Linked DNA regions of Homo sapiens: all the other regions are linked to region 2. The links are contacts of gene promoters, found by promoter capture Hi-C in blood cells and fetal thymus (Javierre and others, 2016). All regions are on one chromosome and are shown on one strand. The core of a region is centred on a gene start or on the middle of the fragment in contact, and the rest is flanking DNA. Distances in the headings are between cores, read along the strand shown. Region 1 overlaps RASSF6 (Ras association domain family member 6). Region 2 holds the start of CXCL3 (C-X-C motif chemokine ligand 3). Region 3 has its middle 18 kb from the start of RASSF6. Region 4 overlaps INKILN (inflammatory MKL1 (MRTFA) interacting lncRNA). Region 5 overlaps RASSF6 (Ras association domain family member 6). Region 6 overlaps RASSF6 (Ras association domain family member 6). Region 7 has its middle 44 kb from the start of UMLILO.

Region 1 (3,719 bases), core at 388-2,887, 430 kb after region 2:
ACTCAATGACATGAAATTTCATTAGATTACAAGGCCTGGTGTTGAAGAAATGTTTCAATTTGGAGCCTGGAAAGGTAGGTTTGAGTGGAATTGAAGAAAACTTGAGAGTCAGGTTAAGGGACTTGGGCTGTATTTATTAAGAAAGATACCAAGATGGTTTGTGACCAAATAGGTGATGGGATGATCGGAATGATAAAAGCCTAAAATGAGACTCCAGCCAAGCATTCACCCTGAAAACTGTAACAAAGTACCTAGTGAGTTTAACAACATGCTATAAAGAAAAATATGCATCAGAGATTTTATGAGAATAGAAGAATAGCTTTCCTGTTTTCTTTTTTTCCTGGTACTCTGAAGAGTTAGGACATATAATTTCCTAATTTTTATTCATCTTACCCAACCCAAATAACCAGATTTGAAAGGAAAAGGAGGAAATCCACCCCCTTATACACAACGTTTTTTTTTTTAAAAAAAAAAAAAAAAGAAAACTGAACTCTCTCATCCATCTTTTTTATTCTGGCTCTATCCCCTAAAATCTTATAGACTTGGAGCCATGATAACTGAATATTCAATTTTTGCAAAATGGAATGAACAGAAAATATTATACTTTACATCTCTGGTCACACCCTAATGCCATTTATATGAACATATAAAGGAGGAGATTATTCACATCTGACCACAGTTTCCAGAGCTTGAAGGAGACTTGAAAAATATTACATCATACCTAATCAACTCTTCAAGTCAGAGCTTGATTTTAGCTGCCTAGAATTGCAGTTGTCTTCTGCTGATTGGGGCAAGGTTCAGCCAGTTTGGGTGAGTTATTGCAATAGAAGGAATATGCTCCCTTATACAGAATTATATAAATCAATAGAGTCATATTTATTTTGCTAGAAATATATCTAAAACAGACTTACCAAATTGTTCAATCCATCCGTGTCTGGAGTTACTGTTTCTGTAGTTTTTCATTTACATAATACATTTTTCTGTATTTTTGCTCACACATGACATACTACTTAAAAACTTTCTAAAACCTTCTTATACTCTAGAGACACAACAAAACACTCAACTTAAATCAGAAACTAATTTTTTAATGCATTATAGGAACAAATCATTAATATTATTCTCATGTTTAGGATATCCTCAGACCATCTCAAAAAGGAGGAAAAGATGACTATGATGGCTCACCAGTACCCCTCTTGGATCTTCATTAATGAGAAGACATTCATAACCAGGTAACCACACACCTTATATTATACATTGTCCTACTCACCAGTCATTTGTGGAATATACCGTCAAAGTTTTCTAAGCATGATGTATGGTCAACAAGATCAATAATATGAATCATCAGTAGAGATACTAGATAAGAAGTTGGAAAAGTATGTTCCTAAAGACTCTCAAATTTACTCTCATGGAACAATCACTAATATTTTGTTTAACAGTGGTTTTACTTTATTAAAAGCAACATTTCTGTTTTAATAGTTGGGATAATATTGAAGAGCAGCATTAGGTGAAAGATCTAAGGCTTCTCATAAATGATAGTTCTAAAGAATTAACCCCAGGGCCAAAAACATTATGTCCTGTCCTAACCTCTCCATCCCTTGCTCCTCATGACACTTTATTTTTACTGGTTCCCTCTTGACATTAGATTATGCAATATATGGCCAACATCCACAGCTTTTCTTGTACGCAGCAAACAGTATCTCATATTGCTTTGGGAACAATAGAGTAAGGGCTTAAAAGCTATAAGAGTAGAGATGAAAACTGAAACTGGCCAAGCTACAGCAGAGGCTGGGGGCTGAGAGGAGATGAAATCATGAAAAAATAAGTGGTACTGAAACATGACCCAAATCTTATGGGGGGTGGAAAAAGGAAAAAAGCCAAATAAATGACAGAGAGAAGGAGAAGTGAATGATGCAGGGTTGGGCAGTAGGAAAGTGAAGGAAACAAATATGATCAAATATGGAAATAAAGCCACAGCTGAAAGATAAGGATGAACTATAAGCAGTGGGAAAAAGACCTGATGCAAAGGATAAAGGATCCACTGACTTATTCCTCAAACACTTACTGATTACTCACTGTGAGCAGGTGTATTTTTGGACCCTGAGCATTCAGTAATGAACCAAACAAAACCCTTACTCTCATGGAGTTACATCATAAAGTCGGGATGCAGTCAATACATAAGATAAATGCTGAGGAAATGGAGTAAAGAGTGCTAGAGATAGAGAGCGGAAAGGGTTCTGATTGCATATAACCTAGTTCCTTCCTCAGTGAGCGGGAAGCACTGGAGGAAAAGCCTGCAGAAAGGGAGAAAGCAAGCCATGCAGCTTTCGCAGGTATTCCAGGCAAGGGGAATGGCAACTCCACAGCCCTAAGGCAGATGCATATTTGTAAGGGTCAGGGAGAACAGTGTGGGGAAATGGAAGTAGAAAGACAGCAGGAGAAGAAGCCAAATGGGCTCAGAACATGTAGGGTTTGATAGGCCATTATGAGGCTTGATCTTTCCCACTAAATAAGATGAGAAGCTGTGGAAGGATATTGAGCACATGAGTGGCAATATCAGTCTAGCTGCTGTGTTAAGAACAGAGTAGAGAGGGGACAAGAGTGGAAACAGAGAAGTTACCAAGGAGCTGACAGTCCAGGGTGGAGATGAAGGTTGCTTGAACCAAGGTGGCAGCAGTAGAGGTAGAAAACAATGGTCAGATTCTGGATATAGTTTGAAGACCAACACAATAGGATTTCCAGAAGGGTTAGACATGGGTGTGAGAGAAAGAGAATAACCAAGGATAATTCTAAAAATTTTGATCTAGAAAAATGGAGTTAACATTTTCTGAAATCATGAGGAGAAGCAGGAGCTACAGGAGGAGCAGGTTTGCAGTTGAGGATCCGGAATTCAGTTCTGGACACATTACATTTGAGATTGAATAAGAAGCATTTCTTAAAAATGAGGTCCATGGACCACCTGCTTCTGACTCAGATGCCTGTTCACAGTATAGACCCTTGGCTTCACCCCAGAACTAATCATGTGATTCTGATGCATACTGAAGTACTGAGAACAAATTCTCACCATAGGAAAGGATTAAAGTTCTGAGAACTTCTGACCTCCTAACATAAACAAAATTCCTGGAGCTAGGGGAAATCTCTGCCAGGCTGTCACCAGAAATTATAACAATGCCACTGACCAACTATGATATCCAGCATACCACAAATCTGGCAAACACCCCTACTCATTTATTCACTTGGCAAGTAGTTTTTTAGCTCCCTCTCTTTACTAGGCATTGTTGTGGTAAACAAGACAAAAATTAGCAATTTATTGAGGTATTTTTATTTTCCTGCACAGAACTACATGAAAAGAATGGAAATTAATAGTTAAGCAGAATCTTCATAATCAAAATTTTGGTTTCAGCAAATTTCATGAGGATTGCATATGATCAGTAAAATAAGAGGTCCTGATATTAATAATAGCATAGTAGGAAACATAACGTTTATATCCCACTACTGGATGAGAATTCTCTGAGTTTAGAAACTTCCCTGTTCAAAGGGTATTGGCACAGGTTAGCTTTGTACTGAAATGACTAAGCTTCCAGTTGCTGTTTTATTGCCTGGAGTCATCATTGCACACTGCTTCACACAGTGAGCTGGGTGGAAAAAAATAAAAATAAATGTTTTTTATGGTTACTTTCAAAGTATTTTCACTTTAGGTCATAGGCTGAAATCTGGGCACT
Region 2 (3,566 bases), core at 982-3,481:
ATTTTTAATGACCTCCCATCTATGTGCATCTCCTGGTAAAGTACAGATGTGTCTTCCTTTCTGAAAGCCTTCCTAAATTAAAAACATTTAACTTTTTTGTTTTTTATAAATTCCCAATTGAACTTTATTTTTCATTTATAAGTTTGCAGCATTTATTACAGCTTGAAACTGCAGAAGACATTTGGGACACTATTTTGGCCTCCATTGGGTCAATGTTTTTTCTGTATCTATCCTTTCTTTCAAGGAATTTAAGTAGTCAGGGAGATGTGAGAGAGGAAATTATTGAAAAAGAATGGAGCATATATATTACCTATAGTGTCTATTTTAAAGTAACAGGACATTCTAGCACACCTTTCTATCCCTTGTCCAAGATTATTGTAATGACATCACAGATACCCGTGAGCACCAGTAACTACAAGACCATTTTGGAAACTGGGATTGTGGTGTTTATATGAACATTCTTCTTTCTAGGATGTGCTTTGATTTCTTAAGGACTCACACTGCTTTATATCAGTTAGAGACAGGGAGAGTTGGGTGGCAGTAAGGGATACAGAAAATTTTAAATGTGAAAAACACTGGGGAGTAAAACTTTCCATTAGATTCTTCTTTTTTCCTTTACAGAATTCATAGCAGGCTGAGTTTTTGTTCAGGCAATGTCGGGAAAGAAATAGCCTTTTAAAAATGGAAATAGTCCATTTTATTTATTTAACAACCATTAATAAGGCACTTAATCCATGTTGTCTCTTACAAATGTTAACTCATTTCTCATAACCACCTTGGGCTAGGCACAGAGAGGCTTAACAACTTGCAAGTGATACTCTGCAACTAAATACAGGCAGCACAGTTGCACGCTCTGTGTTTGGTTAGGGGCAAGGACTCTTATCCCTTGAGCTGGGTTGTGTAGAGCCCTGTGCTTCAGGCAGATGCCATTCCTTTCTCCTCTCCTCCATCCTACTCCACGTCTCAAAGAGGTCTGAGACCAACTTGTAGAATCACACTTAAACCCTCTAAAACCTAATGACAAATCAAAATACATTATCTAAAACTAGAAAAAGGGACAAAGGTGTCAGGTTAAAAGACTGAAAATCCAGACGAGAAAAAAAAGTGCCCTGTTAATGTTTCCAGAGAAAGATCCCCCAGTGCTGAATACCAGAAAATTCTATAGTAAATGAAATGTGATTTTATGTGTGATCTGGTGTTTAAATGTCATCAGCAGGCAGCTGTTTGCTCCTTCAGTGGGAATGGTGTTTGCACACCAGGTACCTACTCTCTAGTGTCATTCGCAAAGACAGAACCAGAAACATTGAGCCCATGATCCTGCTGGACCCAGCCCCTCCACAGCTTCAGAGTGACAGCCAGTGTCATATTTCTAGATCAAATCTGAATCCCTCCCACTGGGAGAAGGTCTCCAGGGGATTTAGGAAGTTCCAACATTTCAGAGGGAGGAAGGACGTTATGCAGGATACAAAAGAAGAGGTCATGTTATACAGCCCTGGCTTCCACGGACACTAACACTGAATTCAAATTTTGACACTGATAATCTGTTGCCACCAAATGGAAAACGTAAACAAGGTATTCTAAGTGTGATTAGAGAATATGCAAAACAAGGAACAAGTAGAACATTCTTCTCTGGAATCCGAGACGATGGCTGTACTTTCACAGAGAGCATGATGTTAGATGTACATGAAATAACGCTAAACCGAAAATGAGAGAGGCAGAGACCGGGAGGTTAACATAGAGGATAGACTATATAGAGAGAGGATAGCTGAGGGAAAACTCGCCTGTCTCCGGGTCCCCAGCAAATCTGATAACTAAGGAGACAAAGCTCTCTTCCTCTAAAGAAGTCGTGCCTTTCCTGTCCTGGTTCTCACGGGTCCCCCCAGCTCTTTCCTCCAACCCTACCCCGTACGCGGGGGGTCATCGGGGACCTAAGGTCCCCCCTCACAGGCTGTATCTTCAGCGAGGTGGACTCACTGCCTCTCCAGGAATTTGGGGCAGAAAATGAATATCCCAAAGTCCCAGAGTGCACGGGGGTTACTCTGGAGGGCGAGGCGTAGGCGTCACCAGTGGGCTCCCCCTACCCGTATCCGACTCCACCCCGGGGGCGGGGCCGTCGCCTTCCTTCGGGACTCCGGATCGATCTGGAGCTCCGGGAATTTCCCTGGCCCGGCCGCTCCGGGCTTTCCAGTCTCAACCATGCATAAAAAGGGTTCGCCGATCTTGGGGAGCCACACAGCCCGGGTCGCAGGCACCTCCCCGCCAGCTCTCCCGCTTCTCGCACAGCTTCCCGACGCGTCTGCTGAGCCCCATGGCCCACGCCACGCTCTCCGCCGCCCCCAGCAATCCCCGGCTCCTGCGGGTGGCGCTGCTGCTCCTGCTCCTGGTGGCCGCCAGCCGGCGCGCAGCAGGTGGGTCCCGGCGCCCTGGGGTCCCCGGGCCGGACGCGGCTGGGGTGGGCGCCCCGCGCCGACAGCCCCGCTCAATCAGCGAGTCTATTCTTCCCTAGGAGCGTCCGTGGTCACTGAACTGCGCTGCCAGTGCTTGCAGACACTGCAGGGAATTCACCTCAAGAACATCCAAAGTGTGAATGTAAGGTCCCCCGGACCCCACTGCGCCCAAACCGAAGTCATGTAAGTCCCGCCCCGCGCTTCCGCTGCCACCGCTGGGGTCCCCGACTCTCCCGCTGCCCCAACCCTGTCCCCAGCCCGACCTCCTGTCTCACGGAATTCCCTTCTCTCTGCAGAGCCACACTCAAGAATGGGAAGAAAGCTTGTCTCAACCCCGCATCCCCCATGGTTCAGAAAATCATCGAAAAGATACTGAACAAGTGAGTTGTAATTTCCATATACACAGGCGACTGGAGCCGTTGGTCAGAAATACTGGCATCTGCCCCCTAAAAATAAAATCAGGGAACCCCAAGAGTTAGCTGAAGGACTAGAAATTGTGATTATTATTTTCACAATTAAAGTTGCCATTAAGGTTATTAATCTGCTCTGGTGCCAGAGGATATTTCAGTATTTCAGTGTCTTCCATTTCCAGGCCTAACCCCTGGGAGGGTAAATGTGGGTTTCTAGAATACTAAGTAAATTTGACTAACAATGCCAAAATGCCCCCTGCCTGTTTTGGGACGTTTACCTCAGTCCCTAATGGGCTTCAGACCTGAAAAATGCAATGTCTGGTTTGGGCACTTTGGGCCTGTAAGCCTTCTTGGTGAAGAGCAGAAACTTTGCAGTAACACCTTCAGTGAGTTCAAGGCTAGGATCCCTGTCAACGTTATTTAATCTCTTTGAGCTTTAGCAAAATAGGGTAGATAATGGTAGTTATTTCATAGGGTTGTGTGCAGCTTAAGGGAGATCATGAATGGACATTTCTAACCCAATGTGACAATCAGTGACCAATATGTTTTGGCTTTTTCAAACCAAGAATCTAGTTGAGTCCACAGCCACTTCTTTCTTGAAAAAAAAAAAAAAAGCATTCAGGAGTGCAAGTTTTCTGCTATAGAAGGCAGTGGGTACAGACAGACCTTCCCTGAGTGGAGGGCTGGGAGAGAGTCTGCATGGGGACAT
Region 3 (3,780 bases), core at 925-3,424, 400 kb after region 2:
AAAGTTTGCAGATTCCTCAAAAAACTAAAACTAGCACTACCCTATGACCCAGCAATCCCACAGCTAGGTATATAACCAAAAGGAAGAAAATCAGTGTTAGTGTTATCTGCATGCCCATGTTTATTGCAGCACTATCCACAATAGCCAAGATTTGAATGCAACCTAAGTGTCCATCAACAGATGCATGGATAAGGGAAATGTGGTACATATACACAATGGAATACTATTCAGCCATAAAAAAGAATGAGATCCTGTCATCCTGTCATTGCAATAATATGGATGGAACTGGAGGTCATTATGTTATTTAAAATAAGTCAGACAGGGAAAGTCAAACTTCACGTGTTCTCACTTATTTGTGAAAACTAAAAATTAAAACAATTGAACTCATGGAGATGGAGTAGAAGAAGGGATATCAGAGAATAGGAAGGGTAGTCAGTGGGGTTGGTGGGAACAGAGTGATGGTTAGTGGGTACAAAATAAGTCAGAGGGAATGAATAAGACCCGATGTTTGCTAGCACAACAGGGTGACTATAGTCAAAAGTTATTTTAAAATAACTAAGAGAGTATAATTGTATTTTTTTAACATAGAGGATAAATGCTTGAGGGAATGGATACCCCATTTGCCCGATGTGATTACTGTGTATTGCATGCCTGTATCAAAATATCTCATGTAACCCCAAAATATACACACCCTACTATGTACTCACAAAAAATTAAAAATTATATATATGTTCATATATGACACATATATCAGCTAAATTTTTAAGTAAAAAATGGCAAGCTAATCCTAAAATTTATATGGAAATTCAAAGAACCTAGAAGAGCAAAACAACTTTGCAAAATAATAATAATATTAGATAATTAATACAACCTGACTGCAAGGTATATTATAAAGGAAGCGTAATCAATGTTATGTGGTATTGAGATAATGTTAGGCAAATGTATCCATGAAACAGGATAATTTTCTGGAAAAGATCTACATACAAATGAACAGATTATTTTCTACAAAAGTAGCAAAATTCAGTTGAGAAAGTGTGGTATAGTAAATTTTATTCACACAATCTAAATTAAGCCTCCATAAAGTTTATTTAAACAGAAGAAATAGGTCATAGTGCCCCCAAAATTTGGGAACTACTCAAGATTCCTGGGATTGTTGGACCAACATGAAATAAAAGCAGAAAAAGCACAGAACATTAGATGCCAAAAGCAAAGGTAAACTGTGAAAATTAGAGGGGAAAACTACATAGCCTAAATAAGAGTGGCTCAGATAGAGTAGTATTTATTTCACTGTGTGTTTTCATAATATACATGCAGACACTGCCCATAAGGTATATAATTACATCACTCAAGTGCTTACCTTACTTCTGTCAGTATACCATGATCTGCTTGACATCACAAGAATTTAGCCCAGGAAGGATCCCTTATTGCAAACAGGATATGCTCCAGGAGCTGTTTGTTGTGGCTGTAATCAACATAAACTCAACTGTCTCCTATTTTCTGAAACTATGCAAGCACCTATGACCCACTTGTAACTAGAGTTATTAAGGATGGGACAGAAAGCAGTTGTGAATCCATCTAAAAACTACAATCAATGGTTTATAACATTTTTAAAACTATTTTTGAATTTCAATAGCTTTGGGGGTACAAGTGGTTTTTGATTACATGGATGAATCGTACAGTGGTGAAGTATAAGATTTTAGTGCACCTGTAACCCAAGTAGTATTCAGTTTACCCAATATGTAGTATTTTATCCTCAGCCCCCATCTCATCCCCTCCTTCTAAATCTCCAAAGCCCATTATACCACTCTGCATGCCTTCGTGTACCCGTAGCTTAGCTCTCACTTATAAGTGAGAATATATGGTATTTGGTTTTCCATTCCTGATTTAGTTCACTTAGAATAATGGCCTCTAGCTCCTCCAAGCTACTGCAAAATATATTTTTTTATTCTTTTTTATGGCTGACTAGTATTGCATGGTGTGTATATACCATTTTATTTATCCACTCATTGGGCAACGAGCACTTAGGTTGGTTCCATGTCTTTGCAATTGTGAATTGTGCTGCAAGAAACATACACAAGAAAATGTCTTTTTGATGTAATGACTTCTTTTCCTTTGGGTAAATACTAGCAGTATCTGGTATATCTACCATTTGCTGAATCAAATGGTATATATACTTTTAGTTCTTTAAGAAACCTCTATAGTGATTTCTATAGAGGTTATTCTAATTTACATTCCCAATAGCAGTGTGTAAGTGTCCCCTTTTCACCAAATCGATATCGATACCAATATCTATTGTTTTTTGACTGTTTAATAATGGCCATTCTTGTAGAAGTAAGATAATATCTCACTGTGGTTTTAATTTACATATCTCTGATGATTAGTGATGTTGAGCATTTTTTTCATATGTTTGTTGGCCTTTTGTATATCTTCTTTCATGAAATATCTATTCATGTCATTTGTCCCTTTTTTAATTGAATTTTTTCTTGCTGATTTGTTTGAGTTCCTTGTACATTCTGGATATTAGTCATTTGTTCAATGGTAGTTTGCAAATATTTTCTCCTATTCTGTGGGTTGTCTGTTTATTCTGATGAATATTTCTTTTGCCTAATGGAAGTTTTTTTAGCCTAATTAGGTCCCATTTATTTATTTTTGTTTTTGTTGCATTTGCTTTTGGGGTCTTAGTCATAACTTATTTTTCTAGGCCAATGTCCAGGAGAGATTTTCCTTGGTTATCTTCTAGAATTCTTATGGTTTCAGGTCTTAGATTTAAGTTGATTTTTGTATAAAGTGAGATATAAGGGCCCAGATCATTCTTCTACATGTGGTTATCCAGTTTTCCCTGCACCATTTATTAAATAAGGTGTCCTTTCCAGAATTATGTTTTTGTATGCTTTGTTGAAGATCAGTTGCTTAGAAGTATTTGACTTTATTTCTGGGTTTTCTGTTCTGTTCCATTAGTCTGTGTGTCCACATTTATACCAATACCATGCTGTATTGGTAATTATAGCCTTGTAGTATAAATTGAAGGCAGGTAATATGATGCCTCCAGATTATTTCATTTTGCTTAGGAGTGCTCTGGCTATTCAGGCTCTTTCTTGGTTCCATATAAATTTTAGGATTGTTTTTTCCACCTCTGTAAAAAAAAAAATGTGTCGGTATCTTGATAGGAATTCCATTGCATCTGTAGATTGCTTTGGGCAGTATGGCCATTTTTATGATATTGACTCCTCCAATCCACAACGTGGGATGTTTTTTCATTTATTTGTGTCATTTGTGATTTCTTTCTGCAATGTTTTGTGGTTCCCCTTTTAAAGATCTTTCACCTCCTTGGTTAAGTATATTCCAAGAATTATTTTTTGGCGGCTATTGTAAAATGAATTGAGTTCTTGATTTTATTATCAGCTTGGTCATTGTTGGTATATAGCAATGCTACTAATTTTTGTACATTGATTTTGTAACCTAAGACTTTACTGAATTTATTCATCAAATCTAGGGGTCGTTTGGAAGAATCTTTAGGGTTTTCTGGGGGTCTATGATTATATCATCAATGAACAGTCATAGTTTGACTTCCTCTTTTCCAATTTGAATTCCTTCCTTCCTTCCTCTCTTTCTTTCCTTTCCTTTCCCTTCCCTTCCTTTCCTTTCCTTTCCTTTCCTTTCCTTTCCTTTCCTTTCCTTTCCTTTCCTTTCCTTCCCTTCCCTTCCCTTCTGTTCCCTTCCTTCCCTTTTCTTTCTTTTCTTTCTTCCTTCCTTCCTTTCTTTCTTTCTTTCTTTCTTTCT
Region 4 (3,893 bases), core at 448-2,947, 340 kb after region 2:
CTTTTTCAAGAATCCATTGAAGAATCAAGATAGGAAAGAGTATGATTCTTCATTTTTCCTAGCCATGCTCCACTGCTCTATGTTATCATAAAAGGACTTTAATTAAAGTGTTATTCCATTAATTGCCCAAGAAGTCATATTTGAAAGAAATAAATGCTTATATATGTATGCTTACATGTCCCTTCTGGAAGTCTTAACCTTTAAAACTACTCCAGCCCCTTCCCCAAACGTCCTTCCCCAATTCCTTATGCACTTACTGGATTCAAAGCACGACACTATAAAAGCTGTGAGAAGAAAAAAATATAAATTTAAAGAAAACTTTTTTTCAGAAAGATAATTAAATTCAATGTAACAATAATAACTACTCGTTTTCAAAACTCAGCTCTTCAACTATTTCTCCTAGAATTTTTTTCCAAAACTCTTACTTCAAGTCTAACACTCCTTCATCTCAGTTTTCTCTTTCATGATTATGTATTTTAACTCATAGGTATACTCTTTAAGACAGGGGCTATCCCTGAGACCTATCCCACATCCTGAGAAGGGCTTGGCACTCTCCTTGTCAGATAGCCTGTTGCCTCCTCAGCCACACTGTGAGCTCCTTGATAGAAAGAATTGTGCTATCTGTGGCTTTCAGAGCCCTATTCAGATACTTGATGCTTAACATGTGCTTGTAGAGTCGGTAAACTGAATGTATGTGGAGCCTCCAGAACTGTGTTCCCATTGAGGATGACAGGGAACAGATCAATCCTTGTCCTACATGGCCTAAATCTTAGTTTGACAAATATCTGGAAAGAATTACAAAAATATAAGGTAGGAATGACTTGGGAGTCCAGGGTGGTGTCTGAACCCTAGTCACTGCCTTGGGCACACATTTCTCATACTGTTGCAATATCACAGTTGTTGACTTTCAGTTCACTCAGTTGGTCAACTCCCTAAAGTTGGTTAAGGACCCTCATACCCCTCATCCTACTCTTTTCTTCTACCCCAAACCCCCTTTGCTCAGGACTTCCAGTGGTTCCCTCCTTTTAACCTCAGTATTAGCCCTTTATCCCCAACTCTTTGCCTGCCAAATGACATAGGAGCAAAGGATGAGAGGGAGCTGTCCTGGAGGGAAGTAGTACCTGCAAGGTAATCAGACCTTTCATACTACTCAGATCTTGTGGCCATCTCATGTGTGATTATGTTACAAGGATGTTTGTTTTCCTTATGATTTCATGCTATATGAACTCAATCTCAGGAAGAAAAAGAAAGAATTTTCAAGGCTCATCCTGCTACTGATGAGTTTTGTTTTAGAATGTTGCCTCCGAGATGCCTAACGCCATGCAGGAGAGAAAGCTAGGCAGGCAAATTAAAACATGGGCCTCAAAGCTCCCCTGGGAGATGGGAAGTTCAGCTCTCTGTGGCTCCATAGTGAAAAGAGATCAGAAGCAACACCTCTCTGGATCACCAGGACTTCAGAGTTGCTTGCTCATAACCAGACAACTTGTGAAGGCTTCTGCAAAATTTTATGGTGAAGGCTGAAGAGAAAAGAAGTAAAACCCTCTCTAACACTTATACACAGAGCCCTGTGACCCTGACCCTTAGCATATCTTTCACAGGGTTCTCTACTGCAGTCATCTCACCTCTCACCATGGATTTCTCTATTCCAATTTTTTAATTGTAAGATATGTCACATTCACAAAAAAAAGTGAAAAGAACACATATCTGGCTGGGTGCAATGGCTCACACCTGTAATCCCAGCACTTTGGGAGGCCGAGGCAGGTGGATCATCTGAGGTCAGGAGTTCAAGACCAGCCTGGCCAACATGGTGAAACCCCATCTCTATTAACAATACAAAAATTAACCGGACATGGTGGCACATGCCTGTAAATCCCAGCTACTTGGGAGGCTGAGGCAGGAGAATCGCTTGAACTCGGGAGGTGGAGGTTGCAGTAAGCAGAGACCTCTCCATTACACTCTAGCCTGGGCAACAAGAGCAAGACTCCATCTCAAAAAAAAAAAAAAAGAAAAAGAAAGAAAGAAAAGAACACATACCTATAGTTTAAAACCATTATTATAAATGTTAAACACAAATAAATGGTAAATGTTCATATGTGTAACCACCATTCAGATGAAGAAATAACACATTACCAACATTCTCAGAACCCTCTCCCCTATTTCACCTCTTCCTGTTCCCTTTGAGTAATCACCTCCTGATTTTTTCCATAGTCATTCCTTTGCCTTTCTTTATATCTTTACTATCTGTGTATGCATTTCTAAACAATCCAACTTATGTTGCCTGCTTTTGTGCTTCACGTAAGTGAAATCATACTTTTTGTATTTTTTTGTGCCTTGCTTCATTTGCTCCACAATGTGTTTGTGTAATTCATCCATGACATTCCATGCAGCCATAAGTGGTTTATTTTATTTGCCATTAGGGATTAAGAGCAGAGACTCTAGAGCCAGACTTCTCAGGTTTAAATCTCAGCTCTTTTCTCGTTCAGATGTATAACCTTGTGCAAATTATTTCCATCTTTCTGTACTTTAGTTTTAATTTACCTGGAGCTGATTGTGGGGTATGGTGTAAGTTAGGGGTCTTAGGTAGACCTCCCTGGGAAGATCTCTGAGATGGTGATTTGTAAACATGTGGTTTATTGGACCATGAGCATGGGAACTGTACCTGAAAAAAGGTGAGGAAGGCAGATTTGGGCAGAGGAGAAACGAATGGTGAAGCATATGCAGTGGAGGCCTTGGCAGGTCCCATAATAGCTTTCAGCTTGTCTCAAATTGATAGAATTTGTATCCCCACATCAGCTAGTCTCGATGTGAGCTGCCTTCAGGGAGGGACCACAGCCTTCAGCAAGGCAGCTCCTTTAGGCCAAGGGCAATTCCTGAGGAGTGATTCAGCTGCGACCTGTCAACCAGCAATATTGCAGCTGGAACAATTAGTGTCATCACTCTGAAGGGGAGAACTGGGAAGGGCACCACGGCATACAATACAGGGTCCAGTTTGATTTTTTCCCATACAGGTACTCAATTGTCCCAGCACCTTTTTCCACGTTATATGATGCTACCTCTTTCATATCAAGTGTTCATACAGTAGTCTATTTCTGAGGTTATTAAAAGTTATGTTTCCAGCCGGGCGTGGTGGCTCACACCTGTAATCCCATTACTTTGGGAGGCCAAGGCGGGTGGATCACGAGGTCAGGAGATGGAGACCATCCTAGCTAACATGGTGAAACCCCGTCTCTACTAAAAATACAAAAAAATTAGCCAGACGTTGTGGTGGCCCCCGTAGTTCCAGCTACTCGGGAGGCTGAGGCAGGAGAATGGCGTGAACCCGGGAGGCGGAGCTTGCAGTGAGCTGAGATCGCGCCACTGCACTCCAGCCTGGGTGACAGAGTAAGACTCTGTCTCGAAAAAAAAAAAATATATATATATATATATATGTTTCCTCGGTCAATTATCTGATTAAAACAAATTGATATCAACATATATATAGAAAATTACCCAATGGAACTAAGAACAAAGAAAGAGGACTTGACATATTAAATATCAAGAGTTGCTGTAATGATCTCTTTTTTTCACAATCTCTTTCCTTCCTTTTCTTCCACATGAAATGTCCTCAACTGTCTTGTCCACCAGGGATGCAGAGTTTACTGTGCATTCTTCAAGACTAAGCTGAAACATGATTTCCCCTCGGAAGCTGTCATTGGCTTCAGGTTCTTCTTCCTCTGTCATTCTTCAGAACTTCAAGTGCTGTCTCATAAACCGTGCCAGTTCAAGCCTTGAGTAACATCCTATAGTTGTATGATCTTGGACTACTTTATTTAAACAATATATTATAGACATGCTTCACAATTTTCTGTAAAAATTGAAATTGAAGTGTTAACTATTACCACTTAGCTCTATAA
Region 5 (3,791 bases), core at 716-3,215, 450 kb after region 2:
AAATCCCAGCAACTCAATGAAGTTGGTGTTCAGAAACTAGGGCTCTTCAAGATTAACTAATTTGTGCAAGATCCCCAATTACGATGTGGCAGAACTGGACTGGGCCTTACTTCTGTCTGGGGTCCACAGCCTGTGGTCTTGACTCCTCTGCTCTGCTACTTCTCTCCTGGAGACTGCATTCCTTCATTGGAAAAGGCAAAATGTAAAGTCAGAATTTGATTTACCCTGGCCTGGTCTCCAAAATAAGAGGATAAAATCTAAATGTCTTCTTTCCTTGGAACAAAGGGCTCATTGTGCTTTCTACCAAGGAAACTTAATGATGTTCCATCTGATTGTCCCAATCCTGTTCAACAGAGCACCCTGAAATGCACTTGAAGTTAAATAAATGCACAAAACAGTCCCTTGTGTGGGCTTATGCAAGTGTCCCTTGGATATCCAGGTTGGGCTGATTTTTTCCTTACCCCTTTACAAGTTTCAGAAAAATTAATAAATATTCTCAGCAAGAAACATACCTGTATAAAAGTTCCTTTCATCCTTTTTTTCCATCCCTTCTTCCTTTTTAGTCCTTACCTCTCCAGCTCAACCCACTGTGTATATACATTGAGATACCAAGCCTTCTTTTCCCACCATTCATCCTCGCATCCATTGTTAGATGAGCTGGCATTCTATCAGAGGAGGCAATGGAGAAAGAGCTGCCAGGACAATTTGCCCAATGTAATATTTGGCCACAACTAGGGAAAATTAATTATCACCTTGACAGAAGTCTGCTTTTCCTTTGGAAAAAATATTTAAGCCCGACTATGATTTTCACCTTGCCAATATTTCTCAAAAATTATGCTACTGCCATGCTGAATGTTTTGTAATTCCCTACACATTTCATGCAATTTCTAATTTTCCTGACTCTGCCTAGAAGTCTCCCTGCTTCTCCACATCCATTTGCCTGAGTCTCTTCCACCAGTCCTTTAAGACGCAGGTGAGGTAACATGTTCTCCAGAAAGCCATTTCTGACCCCTCAGTCTATACGAGGCTCACTGAAAACTTTTCTATATCACTTGACACACATGCAGTCAATTGTATTTTTGTATACTTATCTCCTTGTCTATAGTGCAAGCTTCTCGGTGGTAGGGAATGTGCTTTATTCATCTTTGTTTTATTTGCTTTATTCATCCCAGTGCCCAACTGTGTGCCTGGCACAAAGAGGAGATTCAAACCATAGTATAGAGCAAAATCCCCAGAAGCCTGTGGTTAAATTACCTCTGCTTTGTTGTCACTACTTAGTCCCTCTATCTATCTCGTCTCCCATCCAAGCTAAGGATTGCCAAGGAGCTTAGGGCTCAGGGCCTAAGGAAGAACGGAAGGGAGGCAGCAGCCTCCAGCAGCCTGAGAGAGCCCCACATTTCTCACTTCAGGTACCTGATGACTGATGGGGCTTATGATTCTAAATGACAAGGAGCATCATTTAAAAGGAAAAATTACTCTTGGGCTCTGCTTTCCGAAAACTGTACAAGATACGGATTTATAAAATTAACTACCATACTTCATATTACCTAAGACCTCATTGCAAAATTCTCTGAGCAGTCACATCTATTTGATGCATTTTAATTTTTTAATTCATGAAAATGTAATAAATATCAAACATTAAAGGAAAATGCCACAGAAATGAAGTAAGGTAATTTTAGTATCACCTTAAACCATCATTATTTTGTATGGCTTTACCAAGATATGTTTTAAGTTTTATTTTATTTTTAATTGACAAATAATAATTCTATAAATTTGTGGGATACATGTTTTTATGCATATGTACATTGCAGAATGAACCAAACAGGCTAATTAACATATCAATCATCTCAAATATTTATCATTTTTTGTGGTGAGAATAGAGAATATAAAAAATTCTCTTATTTAACTCTTTTGAAGTATGCAATATATTATTATTAACCATGATATTTTTTAACTTCTCAAATTTAAAACACTTGTTCCTAGCAATTCTGAATTTTTGGATGAGTTTCAAGAGCCCAGGTGGACAAGGTAATATGCCTCTCCATATACTGCCACAGGTTCTAAAATAATATCCTCATGATACACCTGCTATAGGATCCATTTACATTTTGCATTGTTTATTAGTACATTGCTGTGAAGCAAACAGGAATTGGCTCTTTTTGTTTAAAGTGGAGAAAAATTACCTAGAAACCTTGACTGGCTTGTCCTTTTCCAGTAACAAGATTAACTGTAGAACATTTGGCAGAAAAAGATCCCATTCCTTTTACATACACACAGAACCACACGCAAACAAGAGCAAGATTAGATTTGGTTGTCATTAATTAGCCAAGAGTACTTCCTGGGAGCCAGCTGAACACTCAGGCAGGAAGGCACAGCACAATTTGAAGTGGCTTTTCCCTGGTTTCTGGTTCGCTAATGGGGTGCATAGCCACCTAAGGTATCACTTTTGTTGTTTCAATCCAGTTCTAGACACCCTCCCTCTGGTTGTCTCATTTAAGATAACATCTATTTTAATTCTCAGCCTTTAATTGTGAAAAGAAATTTACTGTTTTCTTACTTTTAAACTATTTTCTTTTTCCCATAGTGGGCACCTCTAGGCAAAACTTACACCTCTGCTCTTGCAGGATGACAGATTTTATATCTGCAGTGGGTAAACGTGGGGTAAATGACAATAGAACTTCAGCTGCAGGAAGGGCTATAATCTTGTGTCTTTCAGTTCTCTCTTTGACGGAATCATTGGTCTTGTCACATTAGTTTAATTATGTTTGAAATGAGTCACACAGAGGAAGTATCAGCTTAATTGGAGTGAAGAAGCTTTTAAAAAATCAGTTTTTTTGAGCTCTGACCACTTGTTATTCTTTATGGAAACAATTCTATGGGCAGTACTTTGATCTCTCATATCTGGCACAAGTGTTTTGGAAATCTTTCATAACAAAAGAGAAGAACAGCCTTGTTAAGGTTGTGTTTGCTTATGCTATTTTTCACATCTGTTTTTAATATCTTTCAAAACTCAGCTTTTGCATATTTTGGACAAGTCATGACAGAATAACATAAAGAGCACAAACTGGACAGGTGTACATTTGAATAACGTCAGTGGTGTTTTTTTACTTACAGTATGGGTAGGGAAGTGACCATATTCTATTTGTCTATCAAATTTCTACCTCCTTTTTATTTTTAAACTCCTTAGAAAACCTCCCCATCATTTAAATTTGCAAATGATATACATCCTGAACTTTAGTCAGAGCAACAGAAGTCCCATGTTTGGGCAAGTTAAACTATTTGATATTACATAAAGTTCCAACCAGTTTTCTCTTGAAAACTCTGGATAACTGCCCTGAAGCTTAGTCATGTGCACAGTTGTATGGGGTGATGCTTCAAATTACACAATCCAGAGCTGAAAACTGGTGTTTTCTGCTGTAGATGGTAGAAAAAAATAAGGGGCCAAACACAGAATATATTGGATGACTTTTGGCCTCCTATATTTGTGTGACAAAACTAAGCTGTCACGTCTGCGAGGGTCACCGAGAATTTGACTGGCATCCTGGGGATTCTTATCTTTAGCCCTATGACATAGCATCAGGTTACTTTGCATTTTTAGTTTCTGTTTTTCATTGGTATTGACTTTTCCATTCCTAACCCCCCTTCTACGATAATTATGTCTGCCACTTTCTGATTATTAAGCTGCTATAGATTTGGGGAAATGGGTAATTTTATCTGCCATAAGACTAATTAGATTCTGAGTCAGGACCTGGTAGTTTTCCTTTGAGTTAAAGTTATTACCTGTAGTTGGG
Region 6 (3,857 bases), core at 1,314-3,813, 470 kb after region 2:
TTATAATTTCTTTGTGGTGAGAACATTTAAAAATGTACTCTTTTAGCAATTAGGGACTTACTTTTAATACAGGAAAATGGAAGAGACTGTGAGACTTTGAAGTAGGTCATAAAAGTCACTGTGGCTTCCTCCTTGCTCTCTCTTGGACCACTTGCTCTGGGGGAAGTCAACTGCCATGTCCTGAGCAGCCCTGGAAAGACCTACATGATGAAGAACTGAGACCTTCTATCAAATGCCAGCAGGGAATTGAGGCCTCCTGTCAACAGCCATTTTAGAAGTAGATCTTCCAGCCTCAGTCAAGCCTTCAGATGACTGCAGCCCTGTCTAATAGCTTGACCGTAATTTCATGAGAGACCTTCAGCCAGAAAACCCAAGGAAACCATTCTGGATTCCTCATCCTCAGAAACTGTATGAGATAAGAAGTGTTTGTTGTAGTACGCCGCTAAATTTGGGGCAATTTGTTACATAGCAATGTATAGCTCATACAATTTCTGGGAAAAAAATAGTTTATTTTCGAATCATTTTTGCATAATGCAAGAATATAAACTTGTCACAGAATAATTTATCCTTGTTTTAGGTGGTCCAAATATTTCATTGTCAGTTATATATTAGCTCAAATTAAATTTTAGATAATATATATTATTATTAATGGTAAAGAATGTGTCACATTTATCTTTATAGCTTTTCTGTACCTAATATTGTGTCTTGTGCGTAGGATGTGCTCAATAAAAATTGATTGAATAAATAAGTGAATGAAAGAATAAATGAATGAGTGAAGGAATTATCTGAAATATTTTTATAAAATTCCCCATATGTATGTATTACTTATTACAAGTCTGGTCCCATAGCTGAAAAAATATTAAACATTATATATATATATATGTTTTTCCCTGATATAGTGGTATATTTTATTATCTCTTGGCTCTACTATGAAATATTCAGTTAGGTGTCATTACTGTTTAATTTGGTTTAGGGCTATTTAGATTGGTTTTTGAAACTGAAGGGGAAAGAAGCCCCTTGCAATGCAATTGATGAAGTGATAAAGACAGCAGGTATAACTATTAGGTGGAGGCATATATATGGGAAAGAACAAGAAATAGGATGTAGTTACAGAGGGCAAAACCTTTCAATGACATTCATTTGTCTTCTAAATTAATAACATCTAATACCTATTAGATTGAGCCATTTGAAATTGCCAATATTTGACCTACAAAGGCAATGATTTCATATTGTTCAAACTAATAACAACTTATTTGCTGGGCACTACGTTTAATATTCATTACAATTCCATAAGGAAATTATTCTTTCAACCTCATGCTACAGATAAAGAAAGTAAGCCATGGAGCAGTTAGGAGATTTGCCAAGGTTTTTAGTAGAAGAAATAGGTAGGATTTAAACTTATGGCTCCAGAAGCCATACAGTTAACCACCATAATCTGTGGCTTCCCCCGAACTATGCTTCCCGAATCTGCCATTCTAAAATGTGTCCTCATTTTTAAGTGGAATAATAGTACCTACTTCATTGGACAGTTGGGGGAGTTACAAGAATAGCACATGTAAAGCCTGGCACTTTGCACATAAGAATGTGATAAATATTAGCTATGTTATAATTAAACTTCAGTATATTCCCCAACCACCATCGTAGCCTTATCTTCTACTAAGACTTACTGCCCACAGCTATGTCATTTTTGTCTTAAAACCAGCCAAACTAAATCACTCAGCCTTCCCTGAAACACTGCACACTTTAGCACATCTCTTTCTGTTGAAACATTCCCATTTTCTAGTCCCTGGTTAGGGTCCCTTCTTCCATTACCTTTCCTGGTCTCTGTAACAATGTGTGATCTCAAGCTCCTGTGTACCACAGTTTCAGTTAGCTCTGCTCTTGTGACACCAGAATTTTGAAATTTGCCTTTTATTATAATTCTTTATGTGCTTATATCTTGTATAAATGCATTAGTGATCTGGTGAAATCATATTCATATTTGTATTATTCCTTGTAGTATCTAGCACAGTGTATTGAATGCATTAGGTACTCAGCAAATGTTTATTGGATCTAATTCACTAATGCATATGAATGTGTTGAAGTCACTGAAGTGAGGAAAAATAATTAAACTCAAGGAAAGGGTATTAGAATGATAATTAATTTTTTTATAGTTCTCTAATCAAAATAATTCATTTATTTAAGCACTTAGTTTTACTTTATCTTTTATACAAAAATATCTGGAAAAATAAAAACAAGTCCAAATGATACCCATCAGTTCTTTATGTCTTTTGCAGAAAGATTTCCAAAGAAAAAAAGTACTATCACAAATAATCACTTCAAGCTCAAATTAATTTAAGTGCATTATATTGTATTGGTGCCAATACAGCATCACATATTTAGGGTAAAGATTAAAGGTGAAACCTTTAGGAAGGTAACTTTATTATGAAGCTTATGATTAGGAAGGTAACTTTATTATGAAGCTTATTTCATTCAGTTTGGCAATAAACATTTTCAGTATTGGCATAGACAAAAACTCCAAGTTGCTTTTAGGGTTTTGTTCACTGTGGAAACTTGGCAGACAATTCCCAGCTTGGTGTGAGAGCCCATCACATCTACCTGAGCCCTTTGAAAGCTGTTTGATTTCATGTTTCTGTTTCTGCTCTTGAGAAGAAGAAAGCTTGTTGTTGAGAGAGAGGGGTAATTACGGTGGGTTTTCTGAGGGTTACAATAATTAGATTTCTCTGCTGGGTAAGAAAGGACAATTTCAGTGTAGACTGGCCAGTGTTCTTGAGCAACTTTGTGAGCACCTGAAAATTTATTTTGTTGATTCTTATTTTGAATATTAGATATGTTTGATGATTTATAAGAATAAGTGTAGATCTCATCAAAGATCCTACATTGACATTTTCTGGGATCATTTAAGCTCCCCATAGACACTAGTACTTTTTGATCCATTTGGACCCTTAGGAAAAGCAAACAAACAAATAATTACATTTGTGAGGAAAAAAAAAAGACAAAAAAAAGTAAAAACCTAAATACATATGATCACAAAATAGAAAAATGTCTAAGACTTAGCTGGGAAGGGCAGAACAAATTGGCCAAATAGAAGCCTCCACCAATCATCATTCTTCTCCACCAAACAGGAACACCAAATTTAACAATGATTTACACACACACACACACACACACAAAGAAAAAGAAAAAAAGAAAAAACCTTCATAAGAACCAAAAATCAGATGAGCAATCAAAATACCTGGTTTTAATTTCATATCACTGAAAGAGGCATTAAGAGGGTAGGAAAGACAGTCTTGCAGAAACCACCCATCCTCCATCCCCCAGCAGCTGTATGGTGTGGAGAATCTGTGCACTTGGGAGAAGGAGAGCACAAGGATTATGAGATTTTACATTTAACTTAGTGCTACCTTGTCACAGTAGAAAGCAGAACCATACTGAATTCATCCCATTTCTACCCATGGCGGGAGCATTTAGACAAGCCCTAGCCACAGGGAAATTGCCTGTCTCAGTCATTGGAATCTGAGTTGCAGCAAGCCTCAGAACCATGGGCTGAAGTTCTCTGGGATGCTAAAAAAAACATGAAATGCAGTCTAGACCACAAGGATTGCAACTTCTAGGCAAGCCCTAGTGCTGTGCTGGGGTCAGAGGCAGTGGATTTAAGCAGCACAAAACCTTGTGAGACACCAGCCAGGGTGGCTAAGGGAGTGCTTGCACACTCTTCTCCCAACCATAGGCTGCACAGCTTACAACAACTAAAGTGACTCCTTCCTTGTGCTTGAGGAGGGAAGAAGGAAGAATCAAAAGAATTTTGACTTGCATCTTGGTTACTAGCTCACCGACAATAGGATGGAGCACCAGGC
Region 7 (3,502 bases), core at 203-2,702, 370 kb after region 2:
ATATGTTCCTTTTCCCCCTTTAATTTGGTCTGTCTCCTGGATGGACTCCTCAGTAGAAGTTTACACTAATAATAGTGCATTCATGCCGGTCCCTAATGATGATAGGTTTCCAGCTCAACCGGAAGAAGAAGGTATGCACTTTAATCTGTCATTTGGCTATAAATACCCACCACTGTGTATCACCTGGCTGTTTAGCTTATTCTTACCAGAATTGGATGTGGACCGTACCATCCTTAACAAATGATTCTTATCAAGTACATAATGTGTTCAGTAGCAATTCTTTTCAACTTCTCACTGTTAAACTTAAGCCTCTTGAGGAATTGAGGGCTCCTGTCACTACTAACAGCAATAAAACAAAAGGACTGCCAGACTGCCCAAAGAAACCTACAAAGGGAACTTTTCTACTGAATTCAATTTTATGGAATGATTGTAATGCTCCCAAGGCCATTGTGCTGCAAAGTCTAGCCATGGGAACTGTTATTGATTGGGCTCCAAAAGAGCATTATTCGCAGGATTGCTCCAGCAAAAATACCTCATGCTCGGAGTATAATTATTTGTTAGATTATATAAAGGATGGATGGCAGTCATACAGGTTGAGACAATAGGTGTCTCCTTACCCATTTAAATGGATGGACGCAGGCATTGTTCCTCCTAGACCAAAAATGATTCATCCCATTGTTACCCCAGAACATCCTGAATTATGGAAATTAGCTGCAGCTATAACAGGAATAAGGATATGGAACACTACTTATCAACTCCTTCACACTAATACCAAAACACCCACATTCAACATCACCTTGATATCTAAACAGGTAATACCCATCAGGAGTTGTGTCAAAACCACTCACCTGCTGTTAGTTAGAAATATAATTATCATTCCCAGTACACAAACTATAGAATGTGATAATTGTAAGCTGTTCACGTGCATTGATGCTACTTTTAATCCCACAACAAGTATTCTCTTGGTAAGTGCTAGGGAGGGGGTATGGATACCAGTTTCTTTACATCATCCGTGGGAGTCTTCCCCCTCTATATACATAGTCAATGAAGTTCTTAAAGGTATCCTCAAAAGAACAAAGAGATTTATTTTTACTCTTATTGCAGTCATTGCAGGTCTAATTGCGGTTACTGCAACAGTGGCAACTGCTGGAGTTATGATTCACAATTCCGTTCAAACCACTCAATGTGTTGAAGCATGGCAAAAAAACTCCTCCAGACTTTGGAATTCTAAGGCTCAAATTGATCAAAAATTAGCTAATCAAATTAATGATCTCTGCCAACGTGTGATATGATTGGGAAATAGAGTTATGAATTTGGAACACCGTATGCAATTACAGTGTGATTGGAATACTTCTGATTACTGCATAATGCCTTATGCTTATAATAAAGATCAGCATAGCTGGGAAAAGTTCTCAAGACATTTAAAAGCCTGGGATGATAACTTAACCTTGGATATTTCAAAACTTAAAGAACAAATTTTTGAGGCTTCACAGGCTCATTTATCCACTGTTCCTGGCTCAGACATTTTTGAAGGAATAACTAAAGAATTATCTGATCTTAATCCCTTTAAATGGATCAAACCCCTTGGAGAATCATTGTTGTCACTGGCATTATTAATACTGGTATGCTTATGTTGTCTCTTTTAGTCTGCAGATGCCTCCAAGGAGTCCGGAAACAAGTCCAAAGTCAACGACAAGCAATGATGGTGATGGCGATCCTAGTTAATAAAAAGGGGGCAGATGTGGGTGGCAAGCCAATCAGGTGCCAAGGCAAGAGACCGAGGGCACGAGCTGTTCCAATATAATAAAATATATAAAACAACAAGAGTTATACTAGATCTAGATCATAGACATGATTATACATGAATATCATTAATCATTAGTTTGTAGCAATTACGCTTTATTCCAATATTATAATAATCCTCGCTCTACAATCATAACCTAGGAAAAGCCAGGCCATACAGAGATAGGAGCTGAGGAGACATGGTGAGAAGTGACCAGAAGACAAGAGTGTGAGCCCTCTGTCAAGTCCAGACAGGGCCACTAGAGGGCTCCTTGGTCTAGCGGTAACGCCAGCATCTGGGAAGACGCCTGTTGCCAAGTGGACCATGGTCTAGTGGTAGCGTCAGTGCCAAGGAAAAACACCCGCTACTTAGCAGACCAGGAAAGGGAGTCTCCCTTTCCCTGGGGGAGTTTAGAGAAGACTCTACTTCTCCACCTCTTGAGGAGGGCCTGACATCAGTCAGGCCCACCCACAGTTATCCGGAGGCCTGTCTCCCTGTGATGCTGTGCTTCAGTGGTCATGCTCCTAGTCTGCTGTCATGTTCCATCCTGTGCACCTGGCTCTGCCTTTTAGATAGCAGTAGCAAAATTGGTTAAAGTACTAAAAGTCTCTGATATGCAGAAATAATGGTGTAAGCTGTCTCCTCTCTCCGCCTCAGCTGCCAAACAGGGAAGGGCCCCCTGTCCAGTGGACACGTGACCCACGTGACCTTACCTATCATTGGAGATGGCTCACACTCCTTACCCTACCCCTATGTCTTGTATCCAATAAATATCAGCACAGCCTGGCATTTGGGGCCACTACCGGTCTCCATGTCTTGGTGGTAGTGGTGCCCTGGGCCCAGCTGCCTTTTCTTTTATCTCTTTGTCTTGTGTCTTTATTTCTACAATCTCTCATCTCCACACATGGGGAGAAAAACCCACCGACCCTGTGGGGCTGGTCCCTACAATTCTCTTGGTCTTCTGTTCCAGCTCTAATGAATTAAAAAACTAAGAAAGTAAGAAATGGATATTTAATATCCTGGCTATGTTCTTTGAAGGGTGTCTCTGCAGACCACTAAAGTGAATATTTCTATAACATACACTGGGCAAGTCCCAGATTTGTCCCGGAGTTTCTGCTTCCTATGCCCTAAGTCAAGGTCAGATGTAGAGCAGCAAGTAATATTCTGACCAGTGAAGTTTAGCCAAATGATCCAAACAGACAGTTTGGTTTAAAGCTGCTTTAGGGATTCAAATCCAAATATCAGAAGGATCAACAATTCTTGATCGTTTTGAATCTAAACAAACACTACCAGTATCCTTCTTGATTTTTGGTTGTGCAAAATGATTGTCTTTAAAAACTTTCCAGAGCAGTCAAATAAACTTCTGGAGGTGTTAGAGTTATGTCAAATACTTTAACAACTCCCTTTTTCTGATGAAATTATGATCATTTTGTACTGAAAACAGAAGCATACATTTCTCATAAATCAAAATCACTTTAAGAAAAGTAGAGCAATTTGAAACACTCCAGGGGAAAGGAATAACATTCTACTCTCATGAATAAAAATTACTGGGGCCTGTCTCAGCAGAAAAAGTAATTCCTGGGAAGAGAAGTATCTCTTATGAAAGGCTTTTCCCCAAAACTGGATGGTTGTGTGGGAGAGGAGTTGGAGGGTGCAGAGGAGGCACAGAAAGGAAGAAATAAGCATAATAGGATGAGTGAGAACCCCAAACAGAGCCCC

What was found. Contacts are between HindIII fragments. The CHiCAGO score rates a contact against its expected background, and 5 or more counts as called.
Region 1: a contact is called between a fragment that was not itself captured here and the fragment with the promoter of CXCL3 in region 2, in 1 of 17 cell types (fetal thymus). The highest score is 5.8, in fetal thymus.
Region 3: a contact is called between a fragment that was not itself captured here and the fragment with the promoter of CXCL3 in region 2, in 1 of 17 cell types (neutrophils). The highest score is 12.7, in neutrophils.
Region 4: a contact is called between a fragment that was not itself captured here and the fragment with the promoter of CXCL3 in region 2, in 3 of 17 cell types (M0 macrophages, monocytes and M1 macrophages). The highest score is 5.6, in M0 macrophages.
Region 5: a fragment that was not itself captured here is called in contact with the fragment with the promoter of CXCL3 in region 2 in 1 of 17 cell types (fetal thymus); the score reaches 6.9 in fetal thymus.
Region 6: a contact is called between a fragment that was not itself captured here and the fragment with the promoter of CXCL3 in region 2, in 1 of 17 cell types (fetal thymus). The highest score is 8.9, in fetal thymus.
Region 7: a contact is called between a fragment that was not itself captured here and the fragment with the promoter of CXCL3 in region 2, in 6 of 17 cell types (M0 macrophages, megakaryocytes, M2 macrophages and 3 more). The highest score is 12.6, in M0 macrophages.

What each region holds. Positions count from the first base shown.
Region 1 is chr4:73,609,241-73,612,959 of GRCh38, reverse strand. RASSF6 (Ras association domain family member 6) reads left to right here. Exons shown (of 11, transcript NM_177532.5): 2 at 1,131-1,229. The coding sequence starts at 1,165. Among named protein-coding and RNA genes, the nearest start is that of RASSF6, 9.3 kb to the left of the region's middle. The HindIII fragment of the contact is 3,879 bases long and covers 1-3,576 here.
Region 2 is chr4:74,037,354-74,040,919 of GRCh38, reverse strand. CXCL3 (C-X-C motif chemokine ligand 3) reads left to right here and starts at 2,231. Exons shown (of 4, transcript NM_002090.3): 1 at 2,231-2,408; 2 at 2,507-2,630; 3 at 2,744-2,827. The coding sequence starts at 2,309. LOC105377275 (a long non-coding RNA gene) reads right to left here and starts at 1,975. Exons shown (of 2, transcript XR_938875.3): 1 at 1-1,975. The HindIII fragment of the contact is 4,426 bases long and covers 1-2,771 here.
Region 3 is chr4:73,636,680-73,640,459 of GRCh38, reverse strand. No RefSeq gene overlaps it. Among named protein-coding and RNA genes, the nearest start is that of RASSF6, 18 kb to the right of the region's middle. The HindIII fragment of the contact is 4,804 bases long and covers 1-3,780 here.
Region 4 is chr4:73,700,287-73,704,179 of GRCh38, reverse strand. It overlaps INKILN (inflammatory MKL1 (MRTFA) interacting lncRNA), which reads left to right. Exons shown (of 3, transcript NR_185098.1): 3 at 3,625-3,825. Among named protein-coding and RNA genes, the nearest start is that of UMLILO, 8.1 kb to the left of the region's middle. The HindIII fragment of the contact is 8,798 bases long and covers 1-3,893 here.
Region 5 is chr4:73,589,232-73,593,022 of GRCh38, reverse strand. All of the region lies in intron 4 of RASSF6 (Ras association domain family member 6), which reads left to right. Among named protein-coding and RNA genes, the nearest start is that of RASSF6, 29 kb to the left of the region's middle. The HindIII fragment of the contact is 1,703 bases long and covers 1,114-2,816 here.
Region 6 is chr4:73,568,572-73,572,428 of GRCh38, reverse strand. RASSF6 (Ras association domain family member 6) reads left to right here. Exons shown (of 11, transcript NM_177532.5): 11 at 1-879. Among named protein-coding and RNA genes, the nearest start is that of RASSF6, 50 kb to the left of the region's middle. The HindIII fragment of the contact is 197 bases long and covers 2,465-2,661 here.
Region 7 is chr4:73,664,684-73,668,185 of GRCh38, reverse strand. No RefSeq gene overlaps it. Among named protein-coding and RNA genes, the nearest start is that of UMLILO, 44 kb to the left of the region's middle. The HindIII fragment of the contact is 4,697 bases long and covers 1-3,502 here.